Regions from separate parts of the Homo sapiens genome. Here region 1 is linked to region 2. The links are contacts of gene promoters, found by promoter capture Hi-C in human tissues and cell types (Jung and others, 2019). All regions are on one chromosome and are shown on one strand. The core of a region is centred on a gene start or on the middle of the fragment in contact, and the rest is flanking DNA. Distances in the headings are between cores, read along the strand shown.

The links. The method cuts DNA at HindIII sites, captures the fragments that hold promoters and counts their contacts. A contact is called where the count stands out against the background at its distance.
Region 1: a fragment that was not itself captured here is called in contact with the fragment with the promoter of FAM170A in region 2 in 1 of the 25 tissues and cell types used here (dorsolateral prefrontal cortex).

The regions. Positions count from the first base shown.
Region 1 is chr5:120,098,203-120,100,902 of GRCh38, reverse strand. No RefSeq gene overlaps it. Among named protein-coding and RNA genes, the nearest start is that of PRR16, 360 kb to the left of the region's middle. The HindIII fragment of the contact is 4,575 bases long and covers 1-2,700 here.
Region 2 is chr5:119,628,144-119,630,843 of GRCh38, reverse strand. It overlaps FAM170A (family with sequence similarity 170 member A), which reads right to left and starts at 1,286. Exons shown (of 5, transcript NM_001367956.1): 1 at 1,006-1,286. The coding sequence starts at 1,075. The HindIII fragment of the contact is 14,754 bases long and covers 1-2,700 here.

The DNA of each region.
Region 1 (2,700 bases), core at 177-2,676, 470 kb before region 2:
GAAGAGGCAACCTGTATAGTAAGAAAAATACTTAGAAACTCTTCATTTGAAATTAATAACCAGAATATACAACGAACTCAAAACAACTCAATATCAAAATAAAACCCAAATAATTCAATTTTATAATGGGACAATGAACTGAATACACATTTTTCAAAAGAAGACATACAAATGGTCAATAGGTATGTGAATAAAAATGCTCAGCATCACTAATCATCAGGAATGCAAATCAAAACTACAATGAGGTATCATCTCATGCTAGTTAGAATGGCTAACAAAAAGACAAAAAATAACAAATACTGTTGAGAATGGAAAGGGGAATTCTTGAAGACTGTTGGTGGAAATGTACATTAGCGCAGCTATTATGGAAAACAGTACGAAAGTTCCTTTAAAAAAAAAACTAAAAATTTAACTACTATATGATCCAGCAATCCCAATACTGGGAATAAATCCAAAACAAAGAAAATCAATATGTCAAAGAAATATCTGCACTTCTATGTTTATTGAAGCACTATTCACAATAGTTAAGATGTGGAATCAGCCTAAGTATACATCAACAGATGAATAAAGAAAAGGTGACATATATTAACAATAGAATACAATTTAGTGATTAAAAAAAAACTTGTCATTCTCAGCAACATGGATGAGCTTGGAGAACACTATGTTAAGTGAAATAAACCAGGCATTGAAACATAAATACTATATGTTCTCACTTATTTGTGAAAGTTAAAATAGTTGATCTCACAGAAGTAGGGGCTAAAACAGTTATTAGTAGATGCTGGGAAGGGTAGGGGTTTGGGTTATAAGACTTACGAGATTCCTAAGCAAAGCAGTGGCTATAGAGGGAAAGAGAGAAAAGAGAAGGAGCAGTGGCTATAGAGGGAAAGAGAGAAAAGAGAAGGAGCAGTGGCTATAGAGGGAAAGAGAGAAAAGAGAAGGAGAAAGAGAGAAGAGAGAGTGAGAATACACAATGACAAAAATGAAAAACTGAGAATTTGAGCAGTTTAAAGTTGCAGACCAGTCATAACATAGAATAAATTGTTAGGTTTTTCAATTAAAAAAATACAATTTAGGATAAATTATAGGTAAGAAGGGAGAAAGTTGTACATGAAATTCCCTGAGCAGTTATGAAGCACAGATATTTGACAAGGGAGAATTGCACTTTCAGAATATGACACTACGATTCTAAGAAAATTCTTAGAAAATCTCACATTGGCTGTCATCCCAATATATACAGAATTTTTGAGTTTTATATCAATTCCACAGATATTTATGGTGTGTCTACTAAATAAAAGCAGAAAATTGTGCTGAGTGAAATATCAGGTTTATACCTAGGAAGCTTACACATTAGCAAAATAAATGAGATATTCCCAGATAGCTATCCTTTAATTCAATATGTGAAAAGTGACAAACGAATTAAGTGCCAGAGGGAAGATAGATTCCTTTTAATTCAGTATGACTTAAGTTTAACTTTTTTAAAAAGGTATCGACTAAACTACAAAAGATTCCACAGTACCACAGGCTGCAGTCTCAAAGATTGTTATAAGAATCTCGTATCTACCACAGTTCTACCTTCCTCTTTTTAGGCTTCCCTTGTGGATAGAATGTTCACTTGTGATAGCTCCCAGCTTATGTCTTCTTTGATTAAATTCCAAAAGAAAACAAAACAAAAATCTCTTCCCCAAAAGTTCTAACTAGCATTCTGGACCTGATTCTTATTTGTCTCAGCTAAGTTATATGTTTATCTGTGAAGCAATCATTACGGCTGGATGAAGGGCTGGGGAGCGTGGAGTGTGTAGACTGGCTTAAGTATATGTCATCTGTATGTGAGCTGAAGACAGTGGAGGAATGGTTTCAAAGGAATATCAAGTTACTGTTATGAGAAGAAGGGAAAATAAATGCTAAACAGGGAGACAGAATGTATATATAGAATGTATTTGCAACCAATCACAAAAAAGCCAATTAATAGTGGCTTATGCCATAAAGTATTTATTATTTTCTTAAGAAGTCCAGAACTAAGCATTTCCAAGTGTTAAGCTTTTAGCATTTTTCTACTCAACCACCCTCAGTATGTTGACATTTTTCCTATGGCTTCATATTCTCATACATCCACACAATAAATTCCTCCTCATGCAGCTTTCTCAGTGAGAAAAATGTATTCCAAAAGTACTCAGCACAAATTTGACTACATCTCTATGGCCAAAACTAGGTCATATGTCACAAGAGAGACTAGGTTGCCATTGTCACAGGAGACCAATCATGATTTAAGACTCTGCATTGGGCGTTTTGCAGTTCTAACTCAATTGTGGTATTAGCAAAGAAAAAGAGGTAACGGCTACCAGATAGACAGCCAATAAAATCTGCCAGATGTTCAGAAAGGCAAAATTAACCTGGAAGTGGTGTGCGGAATGGATGAAGGGGATAAGTTATAAGGGGCAGTGCTGGAGAACATACGGAGGAAGGGCATCAACCAGAGCATTGATGGTGAGAAACTCTCTAATATTTGTGTAAATGTAAACTTGGAGGACATAAACCACCATTCAATGTGAAGTTATTTTTAAACATTAGAAAGAAATGGAGATCCTACTTGGCTTTCACTATGCACCACCAGATTGTTTAATTGCTTTAATTTGCTCATATCCACATGAGATTACTTAAAATTGTCTAATGTGCCTCTCATTTAATTTCTATTGAATACTT
Region 2 (2,700 bases), core at 37-2,536:
AGGTGTAGTGCAAATCATAGACTTCTACCAGCACCCTTCACACCTTCCACCTCAGTCACCCCAGAGAAAGAGCAAATAAAGAGAATACGAGAGAAAGATGAGACTCAGGCTGCATCACTGGGTCTTTGTAAGTGGGTCCCCCGCCTGCCTGAGACTGGCATAGTTCCAGGTACCAGCAGCCCCAGAGCAAAAGTTCTCAGCCCAGCAGGGTTGGCTTTCTGTGTGCCAGTGGCATCTGAACTTCCTGTCCGTCTCACATCTGGGTACCCTCAAGATGGATGTGCGGGCATCAGCCAACAGCCAGGTCTTCCCCTCCCTACTGCATAGGTGGTACATTCTCCTCAGTTTCTCCTCCCTAAAGAAGGCTCAGGCTGGCCGGGAGCGATGGCTCACGCCTATAATCCCAGCACTTTGGGAGGCCGAGGCAGGTGGATCATGAGGTCAGGAGATCGAAACCATCCTGGCTAACACGGTGAAACCCTGTCTCTACTACAAATACAAAAAAAAAAAAAAAAAAAAAAATTAGCCAGGCGTGGTGGCGGGCGCCTATAGTCCCAGCTACTCGGGAGGCTGAGGCAGGTGAATGGCGTGAACCTGGGAGGCGGAGCTTGCAGTGAGCCGAGCTCACACCACTGCACTCCAGCCTGGGCGACAGAGCAAGACTCTGTCTCAGAAACGAAAAAAAAAAAAAAAAGGAGGCCGAGGCAGGCGGATCAGGAGGTCAGGAGATCGAGACCATCCTGGCTAACACGGTGAAACCCCGTCTCTACTAAAAATACAAAAAATTAGCCGGGCGTGGTGGTGGGCACCTGTAGTCCCAGCTACTCGGGAGGCTGAGGCAGGAGAATGGCGTGAACCCGAGAGGCAGAGCTTTCAGTGAGCCAAGATCGCGCCACTGCACTCCAGCCTGGGCGATAGAGCGAGACTCCGTCTCAAAAAAGAAAAAGAAGGCGGCTCAGGCTGGCCAGTGACGCTTGTGCCCCAGAAAGTTTGCCCCGCACATACCTCCTCCCTTCTCAGCGGTTTCCTGGGACTCTTCATTTTCCAAATGTTTCCTCTTTTGTCGTCGTTTCATGATATCAGCTAGAAGAGTTTCTAGAAGATGCTTAATGTCCACCTCCCACTTTTTCCTGTAGATTGGCCCTTCTTGGCTCTCAGGAAATTCATTAAAAAGATTCAGTACGAGTAAACGTAGTTGAATCTCCGAGATAGCTAAAGAACTCAGACCGCTTAGTGAAGGAGCAGCACTGCCCAGTGCCCACTACACTGCAGGGCTGTTAAGGTTCAAAGGTCACCAGGCCCATCGCAGATTCTCTGACATCAATGATGACATCACGGCGTTCTACGGACCTAGGTCCAACACAGTCTGTGCAACTGCAGAGACATCATTTTCAAAAACAATTCCTTTTTTCCAATAGAAGTCCTCTAATGAATTCAACTCTCCCGTATTTCAAATGTGGCAGAATATTTTGAGATGTTAACATGTTCTGTTTAATTTTTTTCTTTTCTTCTTTTTTTTTCACCCTTTCCCTTCTGGACTCAAGCAGGTAGCAGGCTTTGTGTTCATTGCTCAGAGGAGGGGTATGGCAGGGCTGAAAGCAGCAATAGCATGTTAATCATCTTGACTTTTCTTTCTTTTTTTTTTTTTTGTTGTTTTTATTTTGTTTTGTTTGTTCAGAGACAGGGTCTCTCTCTGTTGCCCAGGCTGGATTGCAGTGGTGTGATCATAGGGTCACTTCAGCCCCTAGGCTCAAGTGATCATCACACTTCAGCCTCCCGAGTAGCTGGGACAACAGGCACCAGACACGAGGCACCACACCCGGCTAATTTTTTTTTTTTTTTTTTTTTTTGAGAAACAGGGTCTCAGTATGTTGCCCAGGTTGGTCTTGAACTCCTAGCCTCAAGCTATCCTCCTGCCTCAGGCTCCCAAAGTGCTAGGATTGTAGGCATGAGCCACCACACCCCACCTGACTTTTATTTCTAAAATCTCAAACTCTGTAGGAAAGAGGAAAGTTAGCAGAAACATAACGGAAGCAGGATTTTTTTTAACTAGGCATGCCCCCTTCTTGCTCTACTATAGTGTTGAGAGGTACTGATTAGGTCAGAGAGAGAGAGGGATCTTCAAACTATGGAGGAGAGGAGCCCTCTAAAATGTGGCTGAAGAGGTACATGTGGCAAAAACTTCAAGAAGGGCTGCCTGTATTATGCGTACAGGCAGAATCATGGCGACCTATCTCACACATGGCATAGGAGCCACACCACCTAAAGACTCCCTGGCAGCTGAGCTGATGGGCATCTAAACTTCAGCTGTATGCTCCAATAACCAGAGACTATGCTCTCACCCCACCCTCAAAACCTCAGCCCTGTATGATTTCCAAATAGGGAGGGGTGGAAATCCAAAGAGGACATCAACAGAACCAAGGCTTAAATTACAAATTAAATGGAGTTACATAAGAAAATTGCATACTATTTCCTGCACATCTCTGCTCATGGGCTGAAATGTATACCAGTTATAAGTGGCAACCCATCTGGATCTTCCTGATTCCAATCTAAAATTAGAGACACCTTATTTGGGGCAGTGGCCCCAGTCCAGTGGGACTATTAGTTGACAAGTATGAGGGGGACTCCCAGAAATCACTGCATTAAAAAAGCAGTAGAAATACCCAGAGGACCAAGATGGGCCCAAATTTGAAAGGGCAC